Linked DNA regions of Homo sapiens: region 1 is linked to region 2. Evidence: promoter capture Hi-C in human tissues and cell types (Jung and others, 2019). All regions are on one chromosome and are shown on one strand. The core of a region is centred on a gene start or on the middle of the fragment in contact, and the rest is flanking DNA. Distances in the headings are between cores, read along the strand shown. Region 1 has its middle 8.1 kb from the start of PANK3. Region 2 holds the start of FBLL1 (fibrillarin like 1).

Region 1 (6,610 bases), core at 2,519-5,018, 58 kb before region 2:
TGCATCTTTGGGATAGTATCCTAGTGAGAGGAAAACAGAGTACCTGGAGAAAATCCATGCAGACTTGGGGAGAATGTGCAGACTCCACACAGACAGTGGCCCCAGCTGGGAAGAGATTTTTTTTTTCTCATCAACATAATGAAACGGCGTTGAAGGAAATGATGTTATTTGAAGACGTGCTGTTTTCTTACTCTTCTTATTCCTTAGCTGAGGTCTTCATATGAGGCACCTGATTTACTCCTGGCCCCTTCTTTCCTGCCTTCTGTGGACTTCTGCACAGGAACTGTCAGATAATCTGTATCATAGATGAAGAAGGGGTTTTAAAAAGTATATCCTACTTTTCAAAGCCAGCAAGAAAACCTTTTTTGGAATTATCCTCAGTTTGGGAATTTTCACAAGGCTCTAAGTTCCAGAAAGCTATTCTTGCTGGCTAGTTGGCTAAGCTTTCAGTAAAAGCCCTGATTTCCACAGCAGAACTGTGCAAACTATTCTTATATGCACTGGCCTCACAGCTAAGGCAGTGGCAGCCTCAAAAATCCTGAGATGCGGAATTCTATGATCCTGTCCTTATGTGCTCTTAGTCCTTCCTTATACTGCTGAGGAGCTCCCTAATCAGTCTTCCTCCATTCTCCATCACCATGGGCTTTCTACTAGCTTTTTCACTTCTAGCCTTACTGAATAGCCCCACCACACACACACACACACACACACACACACACACACGCACACACACACCATGCTAAGATCTTTAGTGGTAGCAGCCGTTAGGAAAGGTTTGCTTATTCATTCTTTTGTTTATTCAAATATTCGGTCGGAACTGTCTCTGTACCAGGAACTGTGTTAAAAGTTAGGAACACAATGGTAAACAATAAAAAAGACAGCCGCGCCCTCTGGGAGCTTTCTGAGCTGAGTGAGGATGTCAGACTAAATGACATCGTGATGAATGATATAAATAAAAGTATTAAAGTTCTATGAGGGCCGGGCACAGTGGCTCACACCTGTAATCCCAGCACTTTGGTAGGCTGAGGCGGGCAAATCAATTGAGGCCAGGAGTTTGAGACCAGCCTGGCCAAGATGGTGAAACCCTGTCTCTATTAAAAATTACAAAATTAGCTGGGTGTGGTGGTGCATGCCTGTAATCCCAGATATTCAGGAGGCTGAGGCACAAGAATCACCTGAACCCGGGGAACGGAAGTTGCAGTGAGCCGAGATAGCACCACAGCTTGGGCGACAGAGCAAGACTGTCTCAAAAATAAATAAATAAATAAATAAATAAATAAATAAATAAATAAATAACTTATCTGAGAAAGTAAAGCAGGCACCTATCTTAGAAAGTAAACTAATCTGTTTGCAGGCAGAAGTGATACTTACATTGAGACTTAAATGTCATCATGAATTTTTGTCTAATAGTCAACATCAAGCCAACTCTTTTGTTCCCAATGCCAAGTACTGAGTTGAACACTTTAGATGCATGAAGTGATTTCATCTTCACAAAGACTCAATGGCAAGGGAGCCATTTTTATCCCCATTTTATAGATGAGAAAACTGAGAAGCAAAATTACCACTCTAAAGTTGCACAACCAATCAGGGATTGGGACCTAATTCTGCCTGATTACAATGCCTAGTTTTTAACCACTCTACTCTAACCTGATGAAAGCCTTGATAAATACACTATTAGGCATCGCAAGTCCAGGAAGAGGGCCACCTGTAATTAGAGCTGCCCCTGATTAAACATCGTGTGAGGAAGTACATGATGGCTCCTAGGCCACACTGTCTAGTCCCACCCTTCTAAAATACCGTGATTCATTCCTACAAGAGGTGCTAGACTGCTTTTGTTGTCATTAATTATGTTTCTAGAAGTTTCTACAAGAATAAGACTTTCCAGGTTGCATCTGAAGGACCTGGGCCAACACCCATCCAATTTAATTATTTGTAAGTCCCCATATGGGGGCAGATCCCCTGCTAGGCTTGGGGACACTGAACAGAATAAGTCACAATGCTAGCCTTCAAACAGCTCATCTGGCAGTGAAAGAGACAGGCAAGTAAACGGATCACTGTATTATTTTGCAGTGAGTGAGAAAACTAGAAGCACATGCAGGGACCAGAAGTAGCATAGAAGAGAGGAAGCTTTTCTGGAGGAGGGGATTTCTAGGTTGGGTTTTAAAGTAGAAAAACGTGTTCAATGAAACTCAAAAAGAGAGTCTTCCACTTGTGAAAGGAGTGAGGACATCAGGCAGCAGCAAGCATTTAGTTTGCTAGAAGCTGCTTTTGTCTGATTGGAACATATAATGAAGGGTGAGTAGAGGCATGAGATGCAGCTAAAGAGATACACAGAGGCCAATCATGACTGGTCTTATACCCTAGGCTCAGGAGCTGGGATTTTTATCTTGAAGACAACATGTCAGGAAGAGACAAGGTCCTAAGCCCTGAAAATGATACATTCTGGTTTGCTATTGAGAAAACTCTCTCTGGCATGGGTAAAGAGGGTGGGTCAGATAAAGGCAGGCAAGAGGCAAGAAGGGTCTTTTTTTTTATTTTTTAGAGACAGAGTCTTGCTATGTTGCCCCATCTGGTCTCGAACTCCTGGCCTCAACTGATCTTCCTGCCTCAGCTACCTCAGCCTCTTGAGTCATTGGGATTACAGGCATGAGCCATCACACCTGCCAGGAAGGGTCTTGTTTGTTTGTTTGTTTGTTTGAGATGGAGTCTGGATCTGTCGCCCAGGCTTGAGTGCAGTGGCGCAATCTCAGCTCACTGCGGCCTCTGCCTCCTGGGTTCAAGCGATTCTCCTGCCTCAGCCACCTGAGTAGCTGGAATTACAGGTGCGTGCCACCATGCCTGGCTAATTTTTGTATTTTTAGTAGAGACAGGGTTTCACCATGTAGGCCAGGCTGGTCTCGAACTCCTGACCTCAAATGATCCACCAGCCTCGGCCTCCCAAAGTGCTGGATTATAGGTATGAGCCACCATGCCCACCAGAAAGGGTCTTTAAGAGTATAAATGAGAGACGCAGAGGCTGGTGCTCAGTTGAGAGCAGTGAGGTTGGACGGAAAGGAAGAGACAGGAAGGTAACAGCAGGAAGACTCGGTGACTGGTTGGATGTGCACTGTGACGGGGCAGGAGGAGTCCAGAATGACTCCTAACTTTCTGTGCTGGGCAAGTGGGTGGTGGATGGAACCACCAGCTGAAACAGGGCCTTTAGGGAAATGAAGAGGGAGTGGGAGAATGATGAAACTGGACTATTGAGGTGGAGGTGCCAGGAGGCAGGGATCGGCAGGCAGAGGAGAACTCCAGGGAGAGGCTCTTCCCTGCTCCCTAGGAAATGCCTGGTAGGATGCATTCCTGGGCAGAGCAGAAGTCTGTGACACCCACACTGGGGGCCTCTGAGATGAAAATCACCAACTGCTGAAACCAGCTGACTCCTATGGCAAGACATGCCTAGCATCCCCAACCTGAGCTGAGGAGTGGCTGGGAGAATCAACCACTTATTTACTCTCCAGGCTTCCCTTCTTAGTAAATGACACAACTACCTGTCTCCTCTGAAGTGCAAGCCCAAACCCTAAAACCTACTACACTTCCTGCCTCCTTTTCCCCATACCCATGCATCTAATCTAATTAATCTTCAACAATCACTCCATCTCAAACAGTCCCGATCATTCTTGGTCCCCTTATCTTGCCGTATCATCTTCATAGCATTTATATGATCTAAAATGATATTATACTGCTGCCTACTGGTTTACTACCTTTGTTGTCTCTGGAGCGTAGGCTCCAGGAGGGCAGGGGCCTTATCCCATTCATCTCCATATCCCTAATCCCTAGAACAGTGCCTGGTGCATTGTCAGAGCTCAATAAACGTGAATTAAATGAAGTTCATTTTTTTGTAAACTTCTTCAAACCTTTTTCAGCTTTACTAATATTCACCCTTCACTAATACCTGACATAAATTCTTAATTTTTTCTTTTTCTCTCTCTCTCTCTTTTTTTTTTTTTTTTTTTTTTTTTTTTTTTTTTAGAAATGGCATCTCACTATGTTGTCCAGGCTGGACTCAAACCCCTGGGCTCAAATGATCCTCCTGCCTTGACCTTCTGAGTAGCTGGGACTACAGGCACATGCCACCACACCCAACTATTAAATGAAATTCTTGATCCAACACTTCTCCCCGTCTCTGCTGCTCCCATAATGATTCAAGTCCCTGTACAATGCCTGGAGTGCTCCGGGAACCCCTCAGACTTGGTGACTGACTCTGTGTGGGTTGAGAAGGATGGGAGTCTCTTAGTCTTTTCATTTCCAAGTCATAACTCCTCTCCCATCCAGTCATTCTCCACAAAGCAGCCAAAATAATCCTCTAAATTCATGGACAAATCACTCCCTGCTTAAAATTTTCAGGTGGCCCTCAAGGGCCAGCAAGCTCAACTCTTTGATTAATCTCCTATCACTTTACACCTCACTCTCTACTCCTCACACATTGCTGCTTCTGTTCCTCAAAAAAAAATCTACCTTCAGGACCAGTCACACCTCTGTCGGGCACACTCTTTCCCAGCAATCTGCATGGGTCCCAGCTTAAATGCCACTTTCTGAGATTATCCTCCTTGGCCCATCCAATCTAGAATAAAGCCTGAACCCCCAACCAATCTTCCACAGCCCCAGCCACTCTTTAGCACATCAACCTGACTATTTCCTTCACATCACTTATTATAGCCTATTCTTGTTTATTGATTTGTTAACTTAATTATTGTTTCTCTCTTTTTCACCTCTCTCCACCCCCAGCAAGTACTCCAGTGCCTGGAAGATAGTTCAAGCTTAATTAGTATTTTTGAATTAAATTGTGCTTCCACTATCATGATAGTGATGATGACGATGCTGCTGCTGCTGCTGATAATGATGATGACAAGGATGATGACTGAGGATGCTAATATTCATGATGTTCTCCCCTAGCTTATTTGAGTTTGTGGATCCAATGACTGACTGAAGTATGTTCTTGACCATTTAATTAGAGACAGAATCCGCTGTTAAAAGCTTCATCTGGGCTTTGAAGGGTGTGTAGGGTGTGAGTGTATGTGTGTGTGTGTGCATGTGTGCATGTGTGCGTGTGTGCGCATGTGTGTGTGTGTGTTTATTCATACCAGGAGACCTATAGTCATCATTAGGTACAACTCACCACCTGTCTCTGTGGATACCCGCTCAGTAAAGGCAAAATGAAGATGTGTCAGGTCTCCTCTATCATTTTGCATGATGGGCTGGATTTATTGTGTTTCATAGACAATAAATATTGAGACAAGAAGACAGTCTCTTGGCCCCTTTAGATGCTTTTCCCAGCTCCTGCATTCACTCTGCCAGGAATGGGTTTTGAGGACATGCTAGAAAAGAGAGAAAATGCAATTAACCAGATGGTGCTAGGAGGAGGGACTGGGGCTGAAAGCCAACGCAGGCTGCAGAAGGAAGAGTGGCCACAAACTAAAACAGGATGACCTGTCAGTTTCAATCACACTGGTGAAAACTTTAGGAAACACATGGCTGAACACATTTCACATTGGTCCTGAAAAGGGAACAGGTTCTTAGTGAACTGAACACACTTCACATTGGTCCTGAAAAGGGAACAGGTTCTTAGTGAAATTCAAAAAGTAGAGATGAAAGAAATCTCTGGGCTGGGCACCATGGCTCATGCCAGGGTGAGCAAAACTCTGTCTCAAAAAAATAAAAATAAAAAAACCAGGCACAGTGGCTCATGCCTGTAATCCCAGCACTTTGGGAAGCCAAGGCAGGCAGATCACCTGAGGTTAGGAGTTTGAGACCAGCCTGGCCAGCAAGGTGAAACCCCGTCGCTACTAAAAATACAAAAATTAGGGAGGCGTGGTGGCAGGCAACTGCAGTCCCAGCTACGCAGGAGGCTGCAGCAGGAGAATCGCTTGAACCTGGGAGGCAGATATTAGGCCGGGCACAGTGGCTTACGCCAGTAATCCCAGTAATCCCAGCACTTTGGGAGGCTGAGGCGGGCGGATCACAAGGTCAGGAGATCGAGACCAGCCTGGCTAACACGGTGAAACCCCACCTCTACTAAGAATACAAAAAATTAGCCAGGCATGGTGGTGGGTGCCTGTAGTCCCAGCTACTGGGGAGGCTGAGGTAGGAGAATGGCGTGAACCCGAGAGGCGGAGCTTGCAGTGAGCACAGATCATGCCACTGCACTCCAGCCTGGGCGACACAGCGAGACTCCGTCTCAAAAAGAGAAAAAAAAAATCTCCAACAGTCATCTCATTTTGCAGATGGGTAATTTGAAGCCCAGAGAGAAAAAGGACTTTCCCAGGGTCACACAGCAATTGTATGGCTGATCTGAGACAGGAATTCTCACTATTCAAAGTTCAGTGATTTTCTGGCATAACAGACCAAAGAGTAGTCTCATCTTTGAACAAACAGCAAATAGATGGTTAACTCTAGTAATATCACAGGTGTATAGCCTAACTTTTAAGCTAAGTCATCCATGTGTACACTCATCTCTATGGCCACAGAAACTAGCAAGAGCCTGTGCCCAAAACTTACCCAAATTTCTGTGGCTTCTAATTTCTAGCTCTTCTTCCTTTCAGACCATGGCCAGACTATCACAAGACATACG
Region 2 (6,475 bases), core at 774-3,273:
CCCTGCTCTAAGTGTGTCCCTGTGCACATGCCATAGGGGTTGGGGACCAGAGACAAGATCCCCCTGGTGCTGAGGAAACAGCAATGGATTTAGAGCCCCGAAGACTGGCATTTAAGTTCTACCTCCTTACTGGCTATGTACGTTTGGGCAAAATAGTTTACCTTCAGAAGCCCTGTTGCTTCACATGTAATATGCAAGTGCTAACAAAGCCATCTCAGGGCTGGTGTGAGGAATAAATTTAACATTTATTTATTATTCACTTTAACAGTGAATGCAAAAGGGCTTAGTTGAAGAGTAAAATACTAAAAACCTATTGTGGTTAAGACTTTGGCTGTGAGTCAGATGATTGGTGTGTTTGACTATATTATTGTCCACCAACATTCAGTGTTTTTCCCGAGTCAGGCTGGGTCATGTGACTTGGCCAAATGTGAGCAGAAGTGCCCCATCAGTTCCAAGGGGACATTTAAAAGCTTTTATTAGCAATTCCGCAGCTCTCTTTCCTCTGCCCTAGGGATGGGGGGAGCATGTGTGAAAATGGGGCCCTGGGGAGTTGGAGACCTGAGTGATTAGAATGAGCACAGCTCCCAGGCTACTGCTGGATGGGCCCCTTATACCAGCCGGTTTAGGCCACTGGGATTTGGGGGTTGATTGTTACTGCAGCAAAACCTAGCCTGGCATCACCATACAGATAGGTGCCGTTTCTTTATGCAGTTTAATAGAAAAACAACAAAACAAAACACTCACAAAGAAAACACACAGAAAATAATAGCAAACACAACGCAGCCTTGGGGAGATGGCAGGCGAGCCTGAGCTGGGTGCTATTTGCTGCTGCTCTTGGGAAGAGGTCGGTAGACCCCGACCACCACAGCGTGGTCCCGCTCATAGGGCTCCAGGGTCAGCTGCTCTTGAGGCTTCAAGTTCTCCTGCTGCAACTTCCTCACCTCAGAAGCAAACACAGCCTCGGCGGATGCGGTGGAGTCGATGCAGTTGGCCTTGATGGAGATGAGAAAGTGGCCCCCATTGCGCAGGAAGGTGTGGGCGTTCAGGGCCACGATGCGGGACTGGTCCGGCTGGGCCACGTCGGCGAAGATCACGTCCACCATCCCGATGAGCATGCGGTACTTGAGCGGGTGCCGCGCGTCCTCCAGGACCGGAATGATGTTGGTGCGCTTCTTGGCCACGTTGACCAGATCGCGGCCGGCGCGGTGGGAGAACTCGACGGCGTAGACCAGGCCGTCTGGGCCAATGATGTCGGAGACATGGGAGACGGTGGTGCCCGACGCGGCGCCCAGGTACAGCACCTTGGACTTGGGCTTGATGTGGATCTGGTCCACCCCGCCCAGGATGGCCGCGGCCAGCTTAGAGCGGAACGGGTTCCACGTGCGGTACTCCTGCTTCACGCCGCCCTCGGTCACCGTGACGCGCCTCTCGCCGTACACAGACTGGCCCGGCACCATGTTCAGCGTGACCAGCGCGTCCTCCGCCCCGCGGTAGATGAAGACGCCCTCGTGCCGGTGCGGCTCCACCGACACCACCATGGCGCCCTTCCTGCGGCGGCTCTTGCTCTTGGCCACGCCGCCCCGCCGCTGTCCACCGCCGCCGCGATCCTTGCCGTCGCCGCCGCCGCGCCCCCGGCCCCGGCCGCCCCCGCCGAAGCCGCGCGCCCGCGCCCCGAAGCCGCCCTTGCCCCCCTGGCCGCCGCCGTCGCCCCCGCCGCCCTTGCCCGCGCCGCCGCCGCCGCCTCGGCCCCCGCCCCAGCTGCCCCAGCCGCCGCCCCCGCGGCCGCCCCCACCGCCCCCGCGCGAGCTCGCGGCCGACTTCATGGCACGCACCGGGGCGGGTGCCGTGGGTTACCGGTGCCTCGGGGCGGGTGTCAGGGGGCTCTGGTGGCTCTGGGTGGTCGTCCCGGCGGTTGTCCGCGGGTTTAGCAGCGGAGGCGGGCGGCGGGCGGCGGGCGGCGGGGGCAGGACGGGCTCTACCGCAGTGCCCGCATCCCGGAGCCGCCCCTTGACGCAGCGGCTGTGGCGCGATTGCATCACACCCGTCCCCGCGACCCTGCGGCCCGGAAGCCCCGCTTCCCAGCCCGCGTGCAGACGCAGCCTGCTCCTCTTCGCTCACCCTGCCCCTTCCCCATCTCCCGCCTTCCCAGGGATCCCTGGCACTTCCCTGGGCCACAGGGACGGGGGCGTCTCTGCTGCAGGAGAGGGGGAGGTAAGCATCAGCGTCGGTCCTGGCTGTGCCACCAGTTCTGGGACTATTGATCAGCAAGGAAGTGTTGTTGATTCTTCAGTGTGAATGGGGATACACAGAGAGCCAAAATGTCATGTTCATCCTCGAAGTCTAGTCTATGCTTCAAAGTCACTCTCTAAATCTGCAGCATTTTCTTGAGGAAAGAAAGAAAAAGAGAAAAAGAAAGAAAGAGAGAGAAAGAAAAGAGAGAGAGGGAGAGGAGAAGAAAAGAAAAGAATAATTGGGCAGCACCAAGGGCAGCAACGAGAAGAAAAGAAAAAAAGAAAAGAACAGAAAGAAAATAAAAGAATAACTCGGCACCACCAATGGCCCCAAGGCCGCAACGCAGAGGCTTTAGGGTTTAGTCAGCACCAGGGACAGCGACAGCAGTTGGGGCCCCCGTTTTGGCTACTGCTAGGGGCTTTGGGAACCACACAAGAGCTGGGGAAAGTAGGATAGGTGGTGAAACAACTGGCCAGCCTCCCGTTAGTTGAATTAAGTGTCTACTCGAGAGAGAGAGAGAGAGAGACAACGCGCACCTGAAGATCGGAGCATTTACTGAACACCTGGTATGTGCAGTATGACTTCCGTTCCATCCTGGACCACAGCTCTTCCCGTCTCATACTCATGGACGACAGTGCCAGGTCTGATTTTCCCTGAGGACTGGAGTGTCTCCTTAATGGGGACCAGAGTTTTATACACTGGAATGTGAACAAGGGATCAGTGAGTGAAATGTATGATTCCTGAGGTTGAATGGTTCACATAAAATACTCTACTTAGAGGTTTCCATTCTTGCTATAAGGTGAATATTTTCCAAAATGATGAACTACACTTGGTGTCTGTGAGGGTTAATTTTATGTGTCAACTTTACTGGGCCATGGGATGCCCAGATATTTGGTCAAATAGTATTCTGAGTGTTTCTGTGAGGGTGTTTTTTGATGAGATTAACATTTAAATTGGTATATTGAGTAAAGCTGATTGCCGTCTACGATGTGGCTGGGCCTCATCTAATCAGTTGAAGGCAGAAATAAAGCAAAATGCTGACCTTCCCCACGGAAGAGAGAATTCTCCTGCCCAAGGGCCTTTCAACTGGCACATCAGCTCTTTCTGCCTGACAACCTTTGGACTGGGACATTGGCCCTGCGGATTTTGGACCTGCTGGTCTCCACAATCACATGAGCCAATATATATCCTATATATACACACATATATATATCCTACAGGCCTGTGTCTTTGGAGAACCTTGAATAATAGAGATCCTGAGACAAAGCCTTGAGTCCAATTGGTTTGTGAGGTGATCCCAGGAAGCACATGTTGGGGAGGCAAAAATGAGATAGAGAAGATAGAAAGGTTAAGAAAGAACTGGGCACAGTGCCTCACACCTGTAATCCCAGCACTTTGGGAGGCCAAGGTGGGAGGATTGATTGAGCCCACGAGTTCAAGACCAGTCCTAGCATGATAGCAAGACCCTGTCTCTACAAAAATAAACAAGACTTAGCCAGGTGTCATGGTGTGTACCTGTAGTCACTGTAGTACCTGTAGTCACTGTAGTACCTGTAGTACCTCAGCTACTGAGGAGGCTGAGCTGGAGGGGTCGCTTGAGCCTGGGAGATCAAGGCTGCAGTGAGCTGAACTCACACCACTACACTCCAGCTTAGGTGACAGAGGGAGACCCTGTCTCAAAAAAAAAAAAAAAAAAAAAAAGAGGGTAGATTAATGAGTAGATGACCACAGTGGACAATGGGAGCTCAATTGCTGTGAGTATTCTGAGAAACTGTGTGGAAGGCATCTCAGAATTGTTCTACTGCAGGTTGGAGGCTGGGGCATTAATCCACTGTCTTAATTTGTTTCTATACCTGAGACTGGGTAATTTATAAAGAAAAGGGCTTTATTTTTTCTTTTTTTATTCTAAGATAGGGTATCACTCTGTCACCCAAGCTGAGTGCAGTGGCACAATCATGGCTATTGCAGCCTTGATCTCCCAGGCTCAAGCAATCCTCCCACCTCAGCCTCCTGAGTAGTTGGGACTACAGGTGTGTGCCACCACACCAGGCTAAAATTTTATTCTTTATAGAGATGGAGCCTCACTATGTTGCCCAGGCTTGTCTCAAACTCCTGGACTCAAGCAGTTCTCCTGTTTCAGTCTCCTAAAGTGCTGGGATTACAGGTGTGAGCCACAGTGGCCAGCCAGGTTTCTTTCTATATAGGTATAAACCATCATGCCTGGCAATTTTTTTTTTTTTTTTTTTTACTTTTTGTAGAGATGAGACCTCATTATGTTGCCCAAGCTGGTCTCCAACTCCTGGCCTCAAGCCATCCTCCTGCCTCAGCCTCCTGAGTTGCTGGAATTCTAGGCACAAGCCTCCACACTTGGCACCATGTATACTTTTGTTTACAATTGACTTGTTATTCCAGAAGATGTGCCCTAAAGTAATGATCATAATTACATCTGTGACTAGGCCTCAGTAGTAGACATAGTGCACATCAATCATTCCCATAGACTTAAAAAATGCATGAGGAATTTTGCTTATTTTCTCACAGAACCATTCCAACAAATTGCCCAAGGAGTAACTAGCCATGATTGACATGAAACCAGAGGTAATACTCTATAACCCCATCTCCATTCTCATTATACTTTAAGCATCCATGCATGAAGAAACTTGTTTTCTCTAAGCCATGGTCCACCTCCAAAGGTGACTGACTGTAGGGATCTGATCTCCACCCCAGTGACAGGTGCAGCTATATTTGCTCAAGAGGAGTTGGGCTATGATGCAGTAACATAGAACTCCAAAATCTCAATGTATTAATACAGCTATGTTTAGATTTCTTATGTTTTATGTCCACTGAGAGTCAGCGGGAGGTTTGCACCACACAGCCACTGAAGAACTCAGGCCCCAACATCTTGTGGCTGCAACATGAGAAAAAAGAGGGCCTCCACTGTACTGCTGAAGAATAGAGTGCAGAGAACTCACAACCTTTTTGTATGTTTAGTCTGGACTTTGACACAATCATTTCTACTCACCACGGATTGCAGCCTTGATCTCCCAGGCTCAAGCAATTCTCCCACTTCAGCCTCCTGGCTGATGACTGGCCAAAGCCAGTCACATGCCCTGCCTAGCTGAAAGGCAGCTGAGATATGTGGGTGCCATAACTGGGGAACAGTAAATGTTTTTACCTAGGTGTCTACTGCATAATGCCAGCTGGCACACCTGGATCAGTGCACCAAACACAAACACCTCAGGTGAAATTTACTGTTTGGCGTGCATATATTTAAATTTACTCGTCAAGACAAAATATAATACCTCCTTCCTAACACGACTAAAACTCACAATCTTAGTCAACTCCCAATAATATATCTAATATAGCTGGTTAATTAATTAGAAAAAGAGAATCTTCTCCCTTTTTGTAGCCTCTGGGACTTGGAAAGTAGCTAAAATCCCTTATTTGGGATGTCATTATTGTTTGGCCATTACTTCTGCTGGGGGACACTTCGTCTCTTGGTGGCTCAGACTCTTACTCCATTCCCCACTGTAGAATTAGTGGCTGCCATTCAGGAAATGCTCAAAAAGCTTAGCTGGCCTACTTTTGCAAAGGTCTTCTTTCCACAAGACACCTTAGAAATTCTCTGTAATTCTTCATTTTATAGAATAAGAATCTGAAATTTGGGCTGGGCGTAGTGGCTCATGCCTGTAATCCTAGCACTTTGGGAGGCTGAGGTGGGTGGATCACTTGAGCTCAGGAGTTCGAGACCAACCTGGAAAACATAGTGAGACCCCATCTCAATACATAAAAAAAAAATTCTGGCCGGGCGTGGTGGCTCACACCTGTAATCCCAGCACTTTGGGAAGCCGAGGCGGGCGGATCACAAGGTCAGGAGATCGAGACCATCCTGGCTAACACGGTGAAACCCCGTCTCTACTAAAAATACCAAAAAATTAGCTGGGCGTGGCGGCGTGCAGCTGTAGTCCCAGCTGCTGGGGAGGGTGAGGCAGGAGAATGGTGTGAACCTGGGAGGTGGAGCTTGCAGTGAGCCAAGATCGTGCCACTGCACTCCAGCCTGGGTGACAGAGTGAGACTCCATCTCAAAAAAAAAAAAAAAAAAAAAAAAAAAAAAAAAAAAAATATATATATATATATATATATATATATATATATACAAGCTATCAAACTCCTACAATCTAAAATCCCCACAAAAATTACAGTGAGTTTAACTGTGCTCCCCTTCAATCCATTACATTTTATAAGC

What was found. Contacts are between HindIII fragments. The study calls those that stand out against the background at their distance.
Region 1: a contact is called between a fragment that was not itself captured here and the fragment with the promoter of FBLL1 in region 2, in 1 of the 25 tissues and cell types used here (spleen).

Annotation. Positions count from the first base shown.
Region 1 is chr5:168,584,166-168,590,775 of GRCh38, reverse strand. No RefSeq gene overlaps it. Among named protein-coding and RNA genes, the nearest start is that of PANK3, 8.1 kb to the right of the region's middle. The HindIII fragment of the contact is 4,965 bases long and covers 1,286-6,250 here.
Region 2 is chr5:168,524,853-168,531,327 of GRCh38, reverse strand. It overlaps FBLL1 (fibrillarin like 1), which reads right to left and starts at 2,023. Exons shown (of 1, transcript NM_001355274.2): 1 at 694-2,023. The coding sequence starts at 1,823. The coding sequence ends at 819. RefSeq lists enhancers at 150-319, 1,175-1,716 and a silencer at 2,570-2,864. The HindIII fragment of the contact is 8,115 bases long and covers 1-6,475 here.